Linked DNA regions of Homo sapiens: regions 2, 3 and 4 are each linked to region 1. Evidence: promoter capture Hi-C in human tissues and cell types (Jung and others, 2019). All regions are on one chromosome and are shown on one strand. The core of a region is centred on a gene start or on the middle of the fragment in contact, and the rest is flanking DNA. Distances in the headings are between cores, read along the strand shown. Region 1 holds the start of FAM177A1 (family with sequence similarity 177 member A1). Region 2 has its middle 28 kb from the start of NFKBIA. Region 3 has its middle 43 kb from the start of PSMA6. Region 4 overlaps SNX6 (sorting nexin 6).

Evidence for each region. The method cuts DNA at HindIII sites, captures the fragments that hold promoters and counts their contacts. A contact is called where the count stands out against the background at its distance.
Region 2: a contact is called between a fragment that was not itself captured here and the fragment with the promoter of FAM177A1 in region 1, in 1 of the 25 tissues and cell types used here (lymphoblastoid cells).
Region 3: a contact is called between a fragment that was not itself captured here and the fragment with the promoter of FAM177A1 in region 1, in 1 of the 25 tissues and cell types used here (heart right ventricle).
Region 4: a fragment that was not itself captured here is called in contact with the fragment with the promoter of FAM177A1 in region 1 in 1 of the 25 tissues and cell types used here (lymphoblastoid cells).

The regions. Positions count from the first base shown.
Region 1 is chr14:35,042,162-35,047,521 of GRCh38, reverse strand. FAM177A1 (family with sequence similarity 177 member A1) reads right to left here and starts at 1,250. Exons shown (of 5, transcript NM_173607.5): 1 at 894-1,250. The coding sequence starts at 1,058. RefSeq lists enhancers at 381-440, 541-810, 1,531-1,730 and a silencer at 1,061-1,410. The HindIII fragment of the contact is 5,057 bases long and covers 702-5,360 here.
Region 2 is chr14:35,430,313-35,435,422 of GRCh38, reverse strand. It overlaps the pseudogene DNAJC8P1. Among named protein-coding and RNA genes, the nearest start is that of NFKBIA, 28 kb to the right of the region's middle. The HindIII fragment of the contact is 3,060 bases long and covers 840-3,899 here.
Region 3 is chr14:35,332,809-35,337,831 of GRCh38, reverse strand. No RefSeq gene overlaps it. Among named protein-coding and RNA genes, the nearest start is that of PSMA6, 43 kb to the right of the region's middle. RefSeq lists enhancers at 762-1,283, 4,168-4,777, 4,788-5,023. The HindIII fragment of the contact is 5,959 bases long and covers 1-5,023 here.
Region 4 is chr14:34,583,143-34,588,593 of GRCh38, reverse strand. It overlaps SNX6 (sorting nexin 6), which reads left to right. Exons shown (of 14, transcript NM_152233.4): 9 at 2,289-2,364. Among named protein-coding and RNA genes, the nearest start is that of SNX6, 44 kb to the left of the region's middle. The HindIII fragment of the contact is 6,294 bases long and covers 413-5,451 here.

The DNA.
Region 1 (5,360 bases), core at 1-2,500:
CCGCCTTGGCCTCCCAAAGTGTCTTTTTGTCTAATACTGAAAAGTTGCAAGAAACGTTAACTCTCTAAACCAGCGCTGTCCAATACAGTAACCACTAGCCACATGTGGCTAATGCGCACTTGAAATGTGGTCAGCCAGAACTGCGATATGCTATGCGTGTAAAATGCACCCAGGATTTAAAAGACTTAGAAAAGACTCCAAAAGAGAATGCAAATACTTCATTAATAACTTTCATAGTAATTTTAGGTTGAAATTGTTTTGATAAATTAGGTTAAATAAGATATGCTATTAAAATTAATATCGGTTTCACTTTTTTAAAACGTGCCTACTGGAAAATTTTAAATTACAATTTTCAATGCAGCTTGCATTCTATTTATGTTGGACAGCGCAGCTCGGAGCCTTAGTTGCCTCGGCGGTGAAATGGGGCTAACACCCACCTCGAGCGGTTACTGTAAGGATCCAGTGAATTAAAGCTGGTAAACGTTTGGCATATGCCAAGCAAAGGGCAGATGCCCAGGCAGGCGCTCGCACCAGAAGAGACTGAGAAGTGGTTGAAGCCGCCCTCACCTGGCTTCCAGCTACTGCAAGGACAGCCTTTGGGGGACACGCCTTTCTTCTTCCTCTGGTAGACCAGAAGCTGGACTATCACCCCAGGAACCCGAGGCCGCCCCAGAGTCTGCTGTGCTGCCAGCCAAGGGGTTGGTGAGTGAGGCGGGGGGCGCTCCTTCCCACAAGCTGGTCTCAGTGAGCAGAAACAGGGGTGCAGTGAGGAGGAACTCCAAAGCTGGGGCGGCCTGCTCGGAGGACGGCCGCGCAGGCTAAAAGAGCGGCCCGCGGAGAAGGCAAGGAGGCGGCTCGGCTCCCCGGACGTCAGCCTCGGCGGCCCCACCTACCTGCCCTGCAGATTCCCCGAATGCCGCGGCGGCCGCAGCTCCCGAGGCTGCGACGGCTTCTCCTCGTTCCACACCGCCCACTGGCTCCTGGTCCATCGTCGTCGCCACCACAGGGCTGCTGGCGCTGGTGAGAAAGAGGGTAATGGCCGGTAAGCCCACTTCCATCCTTGGTCTCCCCGCCCAGTCGCTGGCCGAGCCAGGCTGTCGGGAAGTGGGACTCACCCGCCCAGCGCCCGCCTCGCGCCGCGCCTAGCCAAGTCTCTGAGAAGGGGACTCGCCGGCCTGAGGGGCGGGGCCAGCCCGCGCCTCGCCTAGCCCGCCGGGCTCCGCACCCCGAGAGCTGGCCAACTGCAGTCTGGGAGGCGCAACTACCGGCTCGCGCGGGGCGGGGCGGGGCGGGGCGGGTCCTTGCGGGGCGTCGCTTCCGGCCAAGCAAGCATCCAGAGCTCGTGGATCCCCGCCTGGCACCGCCTGTGACGTCATTTCTGGTACGTGTACCTGAAGCCTGGCGTCTCGACCTCGGCGCAGCCCGTCACCAGCGGCGTCTGGGGCAGTCACCCCGCAGGACCTCGGTTTTTGCACTTGTAAAATGAAGACAGCTGTGTCGTTGTACTTCAAAGGCTAGTGATGGGATGTGGTTGCTGAAAAATGTAAAATGTACGGCTCGTGCTGCACTTTCCATTCCAAACGTGGGTGACAGTCCAGCCAAAATACCCTCGAAAGAAGAACCCCAGGCGTGATATTTGCTTACTCTTGTCTGAAATACTTAAGTATAACTGTAGAAAGTGTTAAGTGAAAAGACCTGAAGGAGAGCAAAGGGCAGTAGTAAGCTTCCATCTTGACAAATGTAAGGAATGTTTTATCTGTGTCTTAAAGTCGTGTGCGTATGTTAGAGGGGGCGTCCCAGATTTTTTCCGTCTTTCGCAATGTTCAACGAAAGTAAAAAATCATGCAATTACTGCATGACTTCAACATCAAACAAGTCTGAGGTTCTGCAGGTAAATGGTATATTGTTGTTTTAGCATGAAAGTTTTCACAAATATGTAGGGGGCAAAACCAAAACATACATTATTTTGGCTATGGGAGGCTTCATTTGATACTTTAAATTCCATTTTCATACTAGTCTCAATTCAGAAATGCTCCCTAAAGTTGTATGACCTTGTAAATGTTTTTCATCATAGCAACAGCAGGCCCAAATATTAAATATTCCTTTCTCTTCTGTGCCAAAGTTCTTCTCCTTACCCTCTGCCTAATGTTATTGTACACTTCCTATTCTATGTATAACTGGAACCTAAAAACAAAACCAAAAACTTTAAAAAACAAATAATCATTTGAAAACCATCTACGCCTTAAAAACTAGTTGGAAATCCATATTGCTCTCTATCCTGGTAATAAAATCAAGTTAGGTTGCTGCTGAAGTAAACAAGTTAGTACCTGATCTGACTCTGTATGGTGGCATCAGCAGGGAGTTGAGACAGTCCAAAACAGCAAAACCAAACTCGGCCATAAATTGAAAACAAAAATAAAGAACCAATTGTTAAGACTTCATGAATTGGCATTCATAAACAACACAGTTCTGCATTATATGTATTCAAAATCTCTTCCTTCTTACTGGCAAGCAGGGCAATCAACAATCTTTATTACTAAAACTTTGTGGGATATTTATAAATGCATGATTTTATTTTCCAAAGTGGCAATTAAATATCAAATTACAATTTTCTTTTTCTTTTTTTTCTTTTTTTTTTTTTTTGAGATGGGGTCTCACCCACGCTGGAGTGCAATGGCGCAATCTTGGCGCACTGCAACATCCGCCTCCCGGGTTCAAGCGATTCCCCCACCTCAGCCTGCCAAGTAGCTGGGATTACAGTTGTGCACTACCACGCCCGGCTAATTTTTGTATTGTTAGTAGAGACGGGGTTTCACCATGTTGGCCAGGCTAGTATCGAACTTCCGACCTCAGATGATCCACCCACCTCAGCCTCCCAAAGTGCTGGGATTACAGGCGTGAGCCACCACGCCTGGCCTCAAATTACAATTTTCATTGCCGAAGCAGAATATATTTTCACAGTTTACATGTGTATTTCTTAGTTTACTGAAAATTCAAAGTACAAGTTACATTCTAACGTGAACTGGAAGTATTTCCTAAAAAGTTATTTTTAACACAAATATCCAATTGAAGAGCAGTTTATTACAAATCAACAACTCGGGCTGGGCACGGTGGCTCACGCCTGTAATCCCAGCACTTTGGGAGGCGGAGGCGGGTGGATCACGAGGTCAGGAGATCGAGACCATCCTGGCTAACACGGTGAAACCCCGTCTCTACTATAAAATACAAAAAATTAGCCGGGCGTGGTGGCGGGCGCCTGTAGTCCCAGCTACTCGGGAGGCTGGGGCAGGAGAATGGCGTGAACCCGGGAGGCGGAGCTTGCAGTGAGCCGAGACCGCGCCACTGCACTCCAGCCTGGGCGACAGAGCGAGACTCCGTCTCAAAAAAACAAAAACAAAACAAATCAACAACTCAAAGCAACATAAAAGCATAGAAATTCTAATGGTTTTATTTTGGACATTTATATTTTTGTCATTATTTCCAAACTGTTATAGCTCAACCAAAAGTAGGCACCAAGGCAATGTGCCAAATTTTTCCTTCTTTCACTTTGTAACATAAATTGTATCGTAGCACTATGACAAAAATAAATTCAAGTATTATGATAATTTATCTACTTGAAAACATAATGTGGTCTAAATTTATCATTTAATGATACATATAGAGCTAAAAAGGTAAATTTGGATTGAACCATTTCTGCGTAAGGCTGGGAAAATAAATCTGAATAAAATTTGATAACCAGGAATGTTCATCAAATAAACAAGACATTCTTAGGGTTTTAACATAGCTACATATATATACTTTGATAGAGAATTTTTTAAGTTATCCATCAAACAGGACAATATATTTTCATCAAAAATAATGCACAAGAAAAAAAGATGATAAAAATAAAAATGCATTTTAGGTTCAGTCTAAGCATAAAGAAATTTTTTTTTTTTTTTTGAGACAGGGCCTTACTGTATCACCCAGGCTGGAGTGCAGTGGCACAATTATGGCTCACTGCAGACTCAGACGATCCTCCCACCTCAGCCTCCTGAGTAGCTGGCGTGTACCATCACACCTGGCTAATTTTTATATTTTTTGTAGAGATGAGGTTTTGCCATGTTGCCCAGGCTGAATAAGTTATTAAAATCATGGTAGTGGTTTCACTTATGGAGCACAATATGCCAGGTACTTTGCTTTCTTTGTATTAACTCTTATTCCTCACAACAATTCTGAAGTATTACTGTAACTACCAACATGTTATAGATGAGGAAACAAAGAGAAGTTAAGCAACTTGCTCCAGTGACGCAGCTGGTAAGCAGCAGAGCTGGGATTAAAACCCAGGCATTCTGATTCCACCACCTACACACTTAGCCATTCCGCCCCACTGAGAATGAAAATGTCAAAAAATACTAGGCCAGTAAGTGTTAGCAAGGCAAGAAATTTCCACACCAAAGGTGAGTATGTTGTTTGGAAAGATTGGGATGGAAATGAGTAAAGTATGTTTCTTTTTAAAAGTCTTTTAGTAAGCTTTAAAGCTCTATATGTAAGAAGCAGATGAAAATACCAAGTGAATTTTTAGATTTGATGTTATGTAAGGTTTTGTTTTGTTAATTAAAATTTGGTCATTTTGTGTGTGTGTGTGTCTGTGTGTGTGTGTGTGTGTGTGGTGAGAATATACCAGTGATATCCAATCACCAAAATTTTCTTTTTTTTTTTTTTGAGACAGTCTCACTCTGTCAGCCAGGCTGGATTGCAGTGGCGTGCTCTTGGTTTACTGCAGCCTCGATCTCCTAGGCTCAAGTCATCCTCCCACCTCGGGTCCCAAGCTGGGACTACAGGCACACATCACCACACCCAGCTAATTTTTGTATTTTCCCAGAAAGGGGTTTCACTATGTTGGCCAGGCTGGTCTCAAACTCCTGGCCTCAAGTGATCCACCCGCCTCAGCCTTCCAAAGTGCTGGAATTACGGGTGTGAGCCACCATGCCCGGCCTAGAATTTTCTGTATGGTATTAGGCATAAAATAACTAGCTTTCTTTGCACACTATGCTAGACTCAGTAATTTTAATGTTGGAGAGCTGTGCATCTTCATCTAAAATCTGTAGAACCCTGAGTGTCTTCTGATAAGAATCTATAACAAATATAAAGATATAATCCTTTTTTTTTTTAGACAGAGTCTTGCACTGTCACCTGAGCTGGAGTGCAATGGCACGATCTTGGCTCAATGCAACCTCCACCTCCCGGCTTCACGTGATTCTCCTGCCTCAGCTTCCCGAGTAGCTGGGATTACAGGCGCACACCACCACACCCAGCTTATTTTTTGTACTTTTAATAGAGATGGGGTTTCACTATGTTGGCCAGACTGGTCTCGAACTCCT
Region 2 (5,110 bases), core at 1,120-3,619, 390 kb before region 1:
ATTTTCCTTTGAGGAAGGTACTCCTCTATGCCAGGAAACTGAGAATGACTCATTACCAGAGATGTCACACCAAGATGACTCCTCATAAACAAGCCCTACTAAAATAACCCTTATCTCCCATTAGTTTCCTTCATATATTTCCTAGTCAATTCCCACAATATTTTCCCTTGAAGCCCAAACCCATCTTCTTTTTTTAAGAAGGGTATACAAACTCCAGGTTCTGGCCAGGTGCAGTGGCTCACACCTGTAATCCCAGCACTTTGGGAGGCTGAGGCGGGTGGATTTCAAAAATTAGTGGGGCATGGTGGCACATGCCTGTAGTCCCATCTACTCAGGAGATGGAGACAGGAGAATCACTTGAACCTGGCAGTCAGAGATTATGCCACTGCGCTCCAGCCTGAGCGACAGAGTGAAACACTATCTCAAAAAAAAAAATTCAAGTTCTGAGCACGTCTTTGAGTTTTCACATCATCTCTGTGAAGCTTCCATGCATTTAAAAGTATTAATATCAATAAAAATCATACATTTTTTTCCTGTTAATCTGTCTTTAGTCAGTTAAATTTGCAGGCCTCATTCACTGAAACTAGGTGGGAAGACAAAATATTTTTCATCCTGAAGAGCACTAAATAGAATGGTAACCTTAGGTGCTTACATAAGAAATTGAAAACCCAATCAAAATACTACACTCAGAAAATTCCATTTAGGGCAGTGCATATTATTTTATATAATCTTAAAAGTGTCTGTTATGGCAACTAAGCACAGTGACATGACCAAATGTACATGTTTGTGATGACAGACACTAGACTGTATACTTACATGACATTTTGAAAACCTAGAAGTGAGGCATTTATAAAAGAGTGAAGGCCGGGTGCGGTGGCTCACGCCTGTAATTTCAGCACTTTGGGAGGCCGAGGCGAGCGGATCACTTGAAGTTGGGAGTTTGAGACCAGCCTGGCCAACATGATAAAACCCCATCTCTACTAAAAATTAAAAAAAAAAAAAAAAAATTAGCCAGGTATGCCGGTGGGCACCTGTAATTCCAGCTACTCGGGAGGCTGAGGCAGGAGAATCACTTGAACCCGGGAGGCAGAGGTTGCAGTGAGTCAAGATCGCACCACTGCACTCCAGCGACAGAGTGAGACTTCGTATCAAAAAAATAAAAATGAAAAAAAAAAAAATGAAAAGCAGGGCCAAGCTTAGGGCCCAGATCTCCTTCCCACCACTTCCTTCCAAAATGTTGGCCTGTGATACTCACAGCTACAACTTCTCTTTAATACCTAGATATAAATCTCATTCAATAAAAACAATTAGCAGAAGAGAGAACATTCAACAGTTGCAATTACCTAAATGTCCCTCCGGTAACCATTTGAATGACTAAATCCTCTACATTGATTGTTTCAGTGAATGATAATTAAAACCAAATAACCTCCAGGCTCATTTGATTCTACAGTGACAATACTAAACCTCTAGACATTATATTGCAAAGCCCTGAATTGAGCCAGGCAAAGCAAAACCAAAGTACAAGGAGAATTGAGTGGTGGGTGGAAGGGTGCTGGTGCATACTAGAGAAGAAAGAAGGCAACAGACACCCTTCACAAGCACATTTAACTGTAGATAGGGGAGCCCCGCGACACCACTTCCTAGTCAGGGAGACTCCTTCCAGGCTTTGTATGGGGAATGGTGTAGTTAGATTAATAACGGCTTCCTACTATTTCCTTCATGTTCCATAAACCAACATGCATCTCACTTCTGCCCTCTGAAACATTGCTTCCCTTATTGTTGAATCCTTTACCCAATTCCATAAGGCCTACTGGGAATATTGTTTTGGGCTTAGACATACGATTAAAGACTTTGTGTGGTTTTTTTTAATATAAGGTAAGAATTTTGCCAGACAAATATGGACTAAGATTAGATAGGCCTTGTTTTCCATATTTATAATACAGAGAGGGAGCATCATCCTGATTAAGTTAAAGCAGAGATTGTGCCCTCATCATTGTGCCCTCAGAGGTTAGTGAAGCACACAGTAATTTCACAAAAATACTCTTTGAACTGAACTTAATGCAAAGTATGTTGAACTAAAATCCATGCCTAACAATATTAATGTACAAATTGTACATTAATAAATCATTCCAAAGCACCATGTTTGTTGCAATTTTTAAATACTCAAAATAGCAGGTGGGCAGACTTGATAAATCATTGCTCTATAGTATACGTTAATACCAGGATCTCAGCTTTCCTCTGCAGGACAAGCACTTCTAGGTAGATGTCAAAGTCAAAAGTTTGGGTAGTTCAGCACCTTCTATAATCAATCAGTGAATCAACACTTATAAAGCACTTACTATGTGCTCGGCATTGTTCCAGCCACAAGATTAGAATGGGGAATCTTCTGGGATCCGCTGAAAATATTGGAAGGCTCTTTCCCAGTAAACTACAAATTACCCCCCAAGCCCTATTTTCTTGGAATTTGTACTAAGAATCCCATATCTGCAAGCAATGTACTTTCAAATAGTGCAGTTTTCATAGCCTGCGTGTTGAATGGGACCCACATGTAATGGCATCTATGATGCACTAAAATAGAGAAGGTCACAAGGGGCCAGGTTCAGTAGCTCACGCCTGTAATTCCAGCACTTTGGGAGGCCAAGGCGAGTGGGTCACTTGAGGCCAGCAGTTCAAGACCAGCCTGGGTAACATAGTGAAACCCAGTTTCTACAAAAAGTGAGGTTAAGTCTGCATTGAGCCATGATTGAGCCACTGCACTCCAGTCTGGGTGACAAAGCCTGTCTCAATCAGTCAATCAAAAAGTCACAAAATCCCCAACACTATAAATTAAAAAACTGTAGAAAACACAGTGCTAACTTCTCCCCTATTAATCTTAAAATAAATTTGTTTTTCATTATTGTAAACCTGTTGGATGTTTGATTGTTTTGATTTAAGAGAAAGGGTCTCATTATGTTGCCCAGGCCGAATGCAGTGGTTATTCAAGGGCTCAAACTCCTGGCCTTAAGCAATCCTCCTGCCTCAGCACCCCCCCCACCCCCCACCAAGTAGCTGGGACAACAGGCCACATGGCAAGAGGCTTGAAATTTTTTATTGTTGTTGTTACCATGCACATATTACCCATCACCACTCTCACACCGCGCCCCCAACAACAAATCTGTGCCTAAAATGACACTATTTGAATTTATCTTTTAGTAGACCATCCAGATTCTTTAAAGTTGTCAGGAGCCCTGTCCCTTTAGCAAGCTGGGTCAGAAAAAAGCACTACTATACTTGGATTAATTTTTAAATGTTTAAACACCTAATTGGGAAAAATGAAAATTTAAAGTAATTAGAAGACAATTTAGAAGATTAGAAGATTCTCTATGACATCTGGACACAAACAAGATGAAAAGCATAAAACAAACACACGTATTAAATTAAACTATATTAAAATGTAAAGCTTCGGCCAGGCGTGGTGGCTCACGCCAGTAATCCCAGCACTTTGGGAGGCCGAGGCGCGTAGATCATGAGGTCAAGACGTCTAGACCATCCTGGCCAACATGGTGAAACCCTGCCTCTACTAAAAATACAAAAATTAGCCAGACATGGTGGCATGCACCTGTAGTCCCAGCTACTTGGGAGGCTGAGTCAGGAGAATCGCTTGAACCCTGGAGGTGGAGGTAGCAGTGAGCCAAGATCAAGCCCCTGCACTCCAGCCTGGTGACAGAGCGAGACTCCATCTCAAAAAAAAAAAAAATGTAAAGCTTCTCCAAATTAACGCAGGAACAGAAAACCAAATATGGCATGTTCTCACTTATAAGTGGGAGTTAAACATTAGGAACTCATGGAAATGAAGATGGAAACAATAGATATGGGGACTACTAGAGCGGCGAGGGGGGAATGGAGCAAGAATTAAAAAACTACCTACTGGGTACTATACTCACTATCCGGGGTGACAAGATCATTTGTATTCCACATCTCAACATCAAGCAATGTACGCATGTAACAAACCTGCACGTGTACTCCCTGAATCTAAAATAAAAGCTGAAATTATTAAAAAACAACAAAAAGCAAAGCTTCTCTATGACAATAGTTACCACTTTTTTGGGGGGGTAGTTATAAAAATTTATTATACATAAAGAATATTACTACTAACAAATGCAGACAGGCTAGGACACCATGGTACTGGGAGGAGGACGGCTAGCTCTTTGGAAAGTGAAAGGTTTGGGTGGCGTGGGCCTCATGCCATGCTGATTGGTCAGTAGACAGGGGGCACATGCCAAACACCACAGGGCATCAGGGCATCAGGTGCCTGTTCTGTGTGCCCACAGGTGTTCCCTGTCTTATCTGGGCCTTCTAAGGGAGCACACCCAGAAGCGAGCAACTGAAGCCAAGGGGCTTCCAAAGTGCCCCTTCCAGGCCTGTCTCTGACGTCACAGCAACACCATTTTAAGTAATATGTTTAATTGGATGATTTCCACAAACTAGGACGAAGTTTCTAACCATCACAATTCAGTGAAGTACAAAACACTGAGTTACAGGCTGTGGGAAGAGAAGGCAGCACCAATGGTGCCACCTTCCAATCCTGGTTGTTCTAGGGGCAGGGAGGAGGAAGGTCTTTTTTTAAACCAGTCCCCTCATTTCATTGTACAAAAGAATTACTCTGATCGATATTAAATTGTATTCAAAACGAAACAGACTAAAAAGCAAATACTACTCTATGTTGAGGTGGAAGTGGGAGGAAAGAATGAGTCCTTCGAAGCAGGAAGGGAGATAGCAGGGGGAAGGTTCTGTGCCTGTGACCCCGGGTGGTCACTCATGCTGCTCCATTTTTACTTTCGGTGGTCTCAGGAAGGTCCGATTTTTCTTCTCTTTCTTCCCCTTTGTATTGACTTGGAAGTTTCGCCAGCTGTCCACACGACCATCTCGACCTTCCTCAAAGTTTTTCTGCCACTCTCTTTCTCGTTTGGCTTTTTCTTGAGCTTCAATCTCTTCTTCCCTTTGCCGTTTCCTTTCATGCATCTCTTTGGCTTCTCTCTCTTTCCTTTTAATTTCCAGCTGAGCAAAGAGTTTCATTTTCTGTTTATATACAGCTTGTTTGAACAGCTCAGGATCATCCTCCTCTACAATC
Region 3 (5,023 bases), core at 1,460-3,959, 290 kb before region 1:
CAAGTGATGTTCTCCCCAGACCCTCAGCCCAGGGACACGAGGGCTGTGCTGGGCTGAGAGGGTTTTGCATCAGGCTGGTCTGTTCCCTCCCTAGCCCACTTGCGTTCTCCTCTGGAGATGGCCTGGGGGGACCCAACTGCAGAGCATTCAGGTGGGGCCCTGGCACTAGCCACAGGGGTGGGGGTGCTGCATTTAGCCTTTCTCTGGCCACAAGCTCCTTGTTCAAGGGTCTCAGGCCACCTTGACTGTGGGTCTCTGTGGGGCCTGGCCTGCAGAAGGCCACACGGCACCTGTGCATCCCTGCATTGGTCACCACCTAGGACTGTGGCACGCAGAAGTGTTATCCATGGGCCTTCACTTTCTGCTCCAGACACGGCAGGGAGTTGAAGTTCGAGAAACAGATAAACAAATGCCAAACATGAGCATAAACTTTAATATATTCAGACTGTTTTAGATATTAAATAGAAAAAAGACCTTGGTGCCTTTGAGGGTCCTGTGTGGCCTTTCCCTAGGTGGAGCTGGTTCCCTTAGAGGTAAAACCAGGAACTTTCTCTTGCAGCTTATGAGAGGGTGACGAGGGTGCGGCTTATCCTTTGTCCTCATGGCTGGAAAAGGGACCCTGACGGGCACAGGGCCTGCCTCGCCCTCCCTCCTCAGGTCTTGGGGAGACAGAGACTGCAGGTTGCCTGGGCGGCCCCAGGAACAGATTTGCATTATTTTGTGGCAACAAGCAAATTTCCTGGAGGGGATTTCTGGAAGAACTGGGAGCCACCCAGCGGGAAAGCTTTAGGAAACAGGAGAGCAGGAGGCCGGGAGGAGACAGGCCTGGGCAGAGGCGGAGGCTGCTTGGCCTGAGGCTCTGGGCCAAGGGATGGTTGAGGCCTCGAACCCCTCCTCCACCCTTCCTCACAGCAGGCAGGAAGCCAGGCCCTGAGCAGGCTCAGGCGCTGCCTCCGCGCCCTCGCTGACCTGCAGGAAACTCGCCCAACCCAGGCCTATGTCAGCAGCAGGACGATGACCTAAGAAGCCAGGCTGCAGAGCAAGATGGAAAATTCCCAACGCTCCTGCACCTAAGGCTGCACCCGGGGGGGCAATATTATGCTCCTCTGGCCCTGACTGCATGGGGGAGGGCTGCCCCCGTTCTGGGCTGGCGGCTCAGTCAGGGGCTGGGACAAGAGCAAACCAAACAGCTTCAAGGGGAGGGAAACGGAGCCCCAGCCCTTGACCTTCCACTTGGTTCGTGCGTTGCTGGACCCGGCGTAACTGCGGCTGTGTGGGTGTGTGTGTTGGGCAGGGATGGGGTGGCGATTACAAAACAGAGGACGGCAGGCGTACTTTCTGCATAGAAAGAACACTCAACAGCCCTCCAACACAGGCTGAGAATCTGAAAAAGTCAGGCCATGTCGGCTTAAAGAAATCAAGCTGCATATCCACCAGCATATCAAGATTTTAAATTTAAGAACTATGGGTCAGGTAGAGTGGTTCATGCCTGTAATCCCAGCATTTTGGGAGGCCGAGGTGGGTGGATCACCTGAGGTCAGGAATTCAAGACCAGCCTGGCCAACATGGTGAAACCCTGTCTCTACTAAAAATACAAAAAATTAGCTGGACATGGTGGCAGGAGCCTGTAATCGCAGATACTTGGGAGGCTGAGGCAGGAGAATGGCTTGAACCCAGGAGGCAGAGGTTGCAGTGAGCTGAGATCGCGGCATTTCACTCCAGCCTGGGTGAAAGAGCGAAACTCCATCTCAAAAAAACAAGAAAACAAAAAACTATGACAGCTCAGATGCGTACATTCTAAAGTTCATCCGAACCTGGTTAATGCAGTGCTTGGCTGGCCTGGAGCCTTAGGGAAGAATATCCACGAGGCACCTGCTGTATGCTGAGCAGGTTCGCATGGAGTCCCTCTCGTTCAGTCCTTGGTTGGTGAGGGCCGCATCACAGGACAGGCTCAGCGCAGCACAAACCGAAAGAGAAATGCTTCGGACCAATGTCCTTTCTCAGTTTCTCCCGGGAAGGCCGGCTGGAGCAGGCTATTTCCAAGGCCCTGGAAATACAGGTGTTTTCCCTTCAGTCATCTCCAGAGCAGGAGCCTCCTATGTCTCAGGAAGATAAGAAGGATCCAGATGCCAGGAGGAGTGACCTCTGGACACTTGGCTGGGAGCCCAGGAGCCCTGATGCCAGGCCCAGGAAGGCCTCCCCACCCCTCTGGGGCCTAGTCAGGGGAAGGAAGGAACCAAGGAAGGGAGGGAGGGAGGAAGGAAGACACATGGGATAGGATTTCCAGACCCAAGGCCGGCAATCCTCCTGGTTCCAATCACCGGATAGGCAAGCTGGTTTGTAGTTTTCCATAGGTGACAAAAGCCAAAGGAAGGTTGCAAAATCCCTCCTGCACCAGTAGGCTTCAAGAGGTTACACTCTCAATAAGAATGTGAAATGGTAGATTCAATAAAATCTAGTGTATGATAACATAATAATTTATGTACATCTTAAAATAACTGGAATAGTGGGCCGGGTGGCTCACGCTTGTAATCCTAGCACTTTGGGAGGCTGAGGCGGGCAGATCACGAGGTCAAGAGATTGAGACCATCCTGGCCAACATGGTGAAACCCCATCTCTACTAAAAAAAATACAAAACTTAGCTGGGTGTGCTGGCGCGTGCCTGTAGTCCCAGCTACTCAGGAGGCCAAGGCAGGAGAATTGCTTGAACCCGGGAGGCAGAGGTTGTAGTGAGCCGAGATGGCGCCACTGCACTCCAGCCTGGCCAGTCTGGGCAAGAGCAAAACTCTGGCCAGGTGTGGTGGCTCACACCTGTAATCCCAGCACTTTGGGAGGCCAAGGCAGGTGGATCACGAGGTCAGGAGATCGAGGCCATCCTGGCTAACACGGTGAAACCCTGTGTCTCTACTAAAAATACAAAAAAATTAGCCGGGCGTGGTGGCGGGCGCCTGTAGTCCCAGTTACTCAGGAGGCTGAGGCAGGAGAATGGTGTGAACCCGGGAGGCGGAGCTTGCAGTGAGCCGAGATCGTGCCACTGCACTCCAGCCTGGGTGACAGAGCAAGACTCTGTCTCAAAAAAAAAAAAAGCGAAACTCTTTTCTACAGAAAGCCTGGGCTTTCTGTAGGGGCTGACTCACTTCAGGGCCCCCTGGCATGGCCTAAAGCTGTAGAGGGGAGCTGGCAGCCCCAGAAGGGCTTCATTTCCCAATCTCTCCTCCCCTTTCTCCTGGCCCCCTGGGCATCTCCACCTCTGCCCCTACCTCCCAAGCAAGCCTTGACTCACATACTCCTGAGTGGCAGCCTCTGGCCTCTCTCCATCTGTGCCACCCCCTCCTAGGACACTGGGGTGAGGAAGCCCTGGGAGGCAGGCTCTGGGTGCAGGTCAGAGGCCTCCCTGTCTGTGCTGGGGTCCAGCTGAGCCAGGGCCACTGAGCCCTTGAGGGCTCTGCAGGCCTCGGGATGGGAAGGGAAGGTGTGGGAGATGACCCTGAGCCCGGGGCGCCCCTTGGAGCTCCCAGAGGCTGTTTTGGCTCCTGGCAGGGTCAGAGCAGCTTGGTGCCATCGTGTGTGCTCCTCCAGGAGGAGAAGGCTCTAGACAGGGCAGGACTTGCCCTAAAGGCCAGGGACCCCCATAGGGAAAAGCTGCCGCCTATGGGTGTCACGAGGAAATGAGCGCCCAGGAAGAACATGGTCACCCTGAAAGAAGTAGGACGTTGTCTCCCTGGCTGAACCACAAGCCTTGCGCGGGTGACGCAGGGCCTCACCTGCTCTGCCCTGGCTGAAGAGAGACATTTGTAAACTTCAGGCTGGCTTCTGCCTGCCTGACCACACTGCTTGGGTGACAATGTTCGCAGGAAATCACATTTTGGTAGTGACTGGTCAGGATGCTGGGGAAACTTAACAGCACTAGAGAGCCGTTCTGGAAGGGCGCTGCCATACTCTGCTGCCACAGCGTAGCTGGTGTCTTCTCTGCACTTTAAATGCATTGTGTCATTTTTTCCTCATAGCACTTCTTTGAGATGGATCCTGTGGTTTATACCCCTTTTTTTCAGAAGAGAAAAACTGAGGCTGTAAATAACTCAGCTGTGGACTGAGAATTCAGTCAGGCTCTGACTGTGGGGAAGCTGGAAGTCCCAGCACTTGATTCTGGCGGCTGGAAGCCTGGGGCTGCGAGTGCCCCTTTCCGCACCCCTGTAGTCAGGGCTCTTGTCTCCTGGCTTTGGTGCTAGGATGCAGCCACCTGGAGCTGTTGGCTACGACCTGTTCAGCAGGGTCCTCCGACCCGCAGTGTTGCTGGATTGTCTGGTGTGTCAGTGTCTGGACAGGGCCTCATACGACTATTTATCTCCCTCCCAGGAGCCCCTCCCTTCAAGGTAGGCCTGGAACTAGGGTTTTTCAGAAATGAGAAATCAGCTGTGAGCACCTGCAGCCCCTCCTGCTTTAGAAGAAACAGCATAATACCCTGTTTTACAATGACCTTTTGTTTTTTTAAGTACACTTCACAGAGAAAGAAAAAGAAAAAGAAAAACCCAGAAGGGATCTCCACGTAGTCTTTGGCAGGAAAGGGGCCTCTTACAGTATTGTTGGTAGCTTTGAATCATTAGAGGCATCTGCTCACGACCTGCTGCAGGGCCCTGGGCGTGGCACTCACAGAGTCCCTCCCAGGAAGGAGGCCTGGAAGCTGGTTTTTCACAAGAAATGTCTTCATGCCCAGTCTGCTTCTGTAAAGGCCTGGACTGCCACCCTGCTGGATGCAGACAGGATGCAAAGTGGCCACAGATATCTCAGTGGCAGCTCAATAACTTGGAGGAGATACTCTGCAAGGGCCTAAATTCTTAGCCCCTGGGGAGACTTAGTCCGTCTTGGTCATCACCCTGTGCCCCGGAGCAGGGTCTGACTTACAGGAGGGGCTCAAAAATATTCGTTGATCAATAAGAAGTATTAAGAAAATGTCTCCTAAATTGACAGGAGATGGTGCAATAACATGGACCCTGTACAGCCTTCTTCCCTGGGTTCCCTCTTG
Region 4 (5,451 bases), core at 2,310-4,809, 460 kb after region 1:
ATTATTTGGTTTTTTATGCTATTATAAGTTTTATGTTTTATTAGGCTGGAGACAGTGACTCAAACCTGTAATTCCAGCACTTTAGGAGGCTGAGGTGGGTGGATCGCTTGAGCTCAGGAGTTCGAGACCAGCCTGGGCAACATGGTGAAACCCAATCTTTGCAAAAAATAGGCCGGGTATGTTGGCTCATGCCTGTAATCCCAGCATTTTGGGATGCTGAGGCAAGGGGATCACATTAAGTCAGGAGTTCGAGGTCAGCCTCGCCCACATGATGAAACCACATCTCTGGCTGGGCGCAGTGACTCACACCTGTAATCCCAGCACTTTGGGAAGCTAAGGCGGGCCGATCACAAGGTCAAGAGATCGATACCATCCTGGCTAGCACGGTGAAACCCTGTCTCTACTAAAAATACAAAAAATTAGCTGGGCGTGGTGGCGGGCGCCTGTAATCCCAGCTACTCAAGAGGCTGAGGCAGGAGAATGATGTGAACCTGGGATGCAGAGCTTGCAGTGAGCTGAGATTGTGCCACTGCACTCCAGCCTGGGTGACAGAGTGAGACTCTGTCTCAAAAAGAAAAAAAAAAAAGAAACCCCATCTCTACTAAAAATACAAAAATTAGCTGGGCATGGTGGCATGCCCCTGTAGTCCCAGCTACTTGAGAGGCTGAGGCACGAGAATCACTTGAACCCGGGTGGTGGAGGTTGCAGTGAGCCAAGACCCCACCACTGCACTCCAGCCTGGGTGGCAGAGTCAGGCCTTATCCCTCCCCCGCCAAAAAAAAAAAAAAAAAAAAATTAGCCAACCGTGGTGGCATGTGCCTGTGGTCCCAGCTACTTGGGAGGCTGAGGTGGGAGAATCACTTGAGCCCAGGAGCTTGAGACTGCAGTGAGCCGTGATCATGCCACCGTGCTCATGCCTGAGCAACAGAGTGAGACCCTGTCTCCAAATAAATAAATTTTGTTTGTTTGTTTGTTTTGAGATGGAGTCTAGCTCTATCGCCCAGGATTTTTGTCTCCAAAATCTTAGATGCCCTTTTTTTTTTTTTTTTTTTTTTTTTTTTGAGATGGAGTCTTGCTCTGTCGCCCAGGCTGGAGTGCAGTGGCACGATCTTGGCTCACTGCAACCTCCACCTCCCGGGTTCACGCCATTCTCCTGCCACAGCTTCCCGAGTAGCTAGGACTACAGGTGCCTGCCACCACACTCGGCTAATTCTTTTGTATTTTTAGTAGAGATGGGGTTTCACCGTGTTAGCCAGGATGGTCTCAATCTCCTAACCTCATGATCTGCCCGCCTTGGCCTCCCAAAGTGCTGGGATTACAGGCATGAGCCACCGTGCCCGGCCATGTTATGTTTTTTAAAATTTCAATTTCAAATTGTTCTTTGCTAATACATAGAAACACAGCATATTTTTTTCAATATTGATCTTATATCCTGCAACCTTGCTAAATAAACTCACTTATTAGTTCTAGTAATTATTTTGTAGATTCCTTAGGATTTTTACATAGATGATCATGTCACGTCTATTAATGAAGAAAGTTATACTTCTTATTTTCCAGTTGTTTTTTTTTTTTTTTTTTTTTTTTTGAGACAGAGTCTTGCTCTGTTGCCCAGGCTGGAGTGCAGTGGTGTGATCTCGGCTCACTGCAACCTCCGCCTCCCGGGTTCACGCCATTCTCCTGCCTCAGCCTTTCCAGTAGCTGGGACTACAGGTGCCCACTACCATGCCCGGCTAATATTTTGTATTTTTAGTAGAGACGGGGTTTTACCGTGTTAGCCAGGATGATCCTAATCTCCTGACCTCATGATCCACCTGCCACGGCCTCCCAAAGTGCTGGGATTACAGGCATGAGCTACTGCGCCCGACCTCCAATTTGTTTTTTTGTTTGAGACGGAGTCTTGCTCTGTCACCCAGGCTGGAGTGCGGTGGCGTGATCTTGGCTCACTGCAACCTCTGTGTCCTGGGTTCAGATGATTCTCCTGCCTCAGCCTCCCGAGTAGCTGGGATTACAGGCATGTGCAACCACACCTGGCTGATTTTTTTATTTTTGATAGAGATGGGATTTCACCATGTTGGCCCAGCTGGTCTCAAAACTCCTGACCTCAGGTGATCTGCCTGCCCCAGCCTCCCAAAGTGTTGGGATTACAGGCATGAGCCACCATGCCTGTTGCTTGCGTTATTTTCTTTACTAGAGTGTCTCATATTACACATTGTTTGAGAGGTAATTGCTCAGTAAGTATTTTTAAATCTATGAATAGGTATACTAAATTCTTAAAACTTTCTCCATAGGTGCTGCAGATGATTACAATAGAATTGGTTCTTCATTATATGCTTTAGGAACTCAGGATTCTACAGATATATGCAAGTAAGTGTTCTAATTTAAAACGTGAAATAGGCTGGGCGCGGTGGCTCACGCCTGTAATCCCAGCACTTTGGGAGGCGAAGGTGGGTGGATTAAGAGGTCAGGAGTTCAAGACCAGCCTGACCAACACGGTGAAACCCCGTCTCTACTAAAAATACAAAAATTAGCCAGGCGGGGTGACACACACCTGTAATCCCAGCTACTCAGGAGGCTGAGGCAGGGATTGTTTGAACCTGGGAGGCAGAGGTTGCAGTGAGCTGAGATTCCACCTTTGCACTCCAGCCTGGGCAACAGAGTGAGACTCCATCTCAAAAAAAATAAATAAATAAAACATGAAATATAGCTGGGCACAGTGGCTCATGCCTGTAATCCCAGCACTTTGGGAGGTGGAAAACCTGAGGTCCGGAGTTCAAGACCAACCTGGCCAACATTGCTAAACCCTATCTCTACCAAAAAATACAAAAATTACCCAGGTGTCGGTGGTGTGTGCCTGTAATCCCAGCTAGCTACTCGGGAGGCTGAGGCACAAGAATCACTTGAACCCGGGAGGCGGAGGTTGCAGTGAGCCAAGATCATGCTGCTGCACTCCAGCCTGGTGACAGAGCAAGACTATCTCAAAAAATATATATGAAATATAAATAAAGCAGAGAAAATTTTCTATTGGCAGCCTGGATGCACACAATACTTTTGGTTTTTGTTTTAGTTTTTGTTTTGAAACAGGGTCTTATTCTGTCACCCAGGCTGGAGTGCAGTGGCACGATCATGGCTCTCTGCAACATTCTCCTTCCACGTTCAAGCAGTTCTCCCACCTCAGCTTCCAAAGTAGCTGGGATTACAGGTGCCTGCCACCATGCCTGGCTAATTCTTGTATTTTTAGTAGAGATGGGGTTTCACCATATTGGCCAGGCTGGTCTCAAGCCCTTGACTTCAAGTGGCCTGCCCGACTCAGCCTCCCAAAGTGCTGGGATTACAGCCTGTGAGCCACTTCTCCCGGCCAACAATACTTCTAATACAAAACTTTTGGAATATTTTTGTCAAAACACATTGATAATAAGGACCTCCTTTAAAAACTTGGGTTGAGGGCTGGGCATGGTGGCTCACGCCAGTAATCTCAGCACTTTGAGAGGCCGAGGCGGGCAGAACACCTCAGGTCGGGAGTTTGAGACCAGCCTGACCAACATGGAGAAACCCTGTCTCCACTAAAAATACAAAATTAGCCAAGTGTGGTGGCAGGTGTCTGTAATCCCAGCTACTTGGGAGGCTGAGGCAGGAGAATCGCTTAAACCCAGGAGACGAAGGTTGCGTTGAGCCGAGATCACAGCATTGCACTCCAGCCTGGGCAACAAGAGCAAAATTCCATCTCAGAAAAAAAAAGAAAAAAGAAAAAACTTGGGTTGATATTTTTTCTTCTCCCTTTCTGTCCTATTTTTTAAATCTGAGAAATAAAAATCGACTTTACTCTCTCTCTCTATATATATTTTTTTTTCTTCCTCCCCAACTGTGTTTTATTTATGAAAATGGGCTGATTTGTGTGTAAGAGAGTGGAAGAACCGAATTTATGTTAGAGTGTTCTTAAGTTTTGATAAAGCTTATAAATAAGAACTGCCATTTGGGAATTAGAATATATATATATGTATGTATGTATGTATATGTGTTTATGTATTTCATTGAAGGTGAAATTGATTCTGCCACCCGCCCCCCGGAAGACGGTGTCTTGCTCTGTCACCCAGGCTGGAGTGCAGTGGCGTGTTCTCTAAAAACACAAAAATTAGACATGGTGGTGTACACCTGTAATCCCTGCTACTTGAGAGGCTGAGGCGTGAGAATCACTTGAACCTGGGAGGCAGAGATTGCAGTGAGCCAAGATCACACCACTGCACCCCAGCCTGGGCGACAGAGCAAGACTTGGTTTCAAAAAAACTAAAAATTAAACATATTTTTAAGCAGGAAAACTATTTTCATAGTCTATGCCTTTCTCTAAACCACATCCTTGACCTTTTCTCTAGTGTATTCTGTCTCAGATATTTAAAAGTCACGCTTTTTGGCAAAGCAAGGTATGATAGCTTACACTAATTAAAATGCCACCAGCCGGGCACAGTGGCTCACACCTGTAATCCCAGCACTTTGGGAGGCCAAGGCAGGTGAATCACCTGAGGTCAGGAGTTGGAGACCAGCCTGACCAACATGGAGAAACCCCATCTCTACTAAAAACACAAAATTAGCCTGGCGTGGTGGCGCATGCCTGTAATCCCAGCTACTCAGGAGGCTGAGGCAGGAGAATCGCTTGAACCTGGGAGGCAGAGGTTGCAGTGAGCCGAGATTGCGCCATTGTACTCTAGCCTTGGCAACAAGAGAGAAACTCCGTCTTAAAAAAAAAAAAAAGCCACCTTCCCAAAGAGTTAATTCTTCTTATCAGGAAGAAGGAAAAAAGTCAACCTTGCCATCTGTTCTCTAACGTAAATCTGTCAAAGCAAGTTCTTTTGAGTGAAAGCAAAGTTCGTAAAATTGTTTTTGCTTTGAGTAGTATTTGCCCTAATTCATTTATGATGTCATTTTAATTACATATTTTACAGAATACTTGAACCTGTGCCCTTTTTTGTTTTTTGAGAGTGGATCTTGCTGTGTGGCTCAGGCTGGCATACAGTAGCTATTCGCAGGTGCAGTCATAGAGCACTGCAGCCTTGAACTCCTGTGCTCAAGCAATCCTCTTGCTTCAGCCTCCTGGGTAGCTGGGACCATAGGTTTGTGCCAGAACGGGGTGACAGAATGATAGCCCATCTCAAAAAAAAAAAAAAGAAAAAAATGAATAACCAATTTCTACTTAAGAATTTATTTTCACTTTTAACTAAATAGTTTATCTGTCAAATGCTGATACCAACTAAAAAATATCCCAGCACCAGACTATTTTTTTTGTAGTTGTTCTTGAGACGGAGTCTCGCTCTGTTGCCCAGGCTGGAGTGCAGTGGCTCAGTCTTGGCTCACTGCAAGCTCCACCTCCCGGGTTCACACCATTCTCCTGCCTCAGCCTCCCAAGTAGCTGGGACTACAGGCGCGTGCCACCACGCCAGGCTAATTTTGTTTTGTATTTTT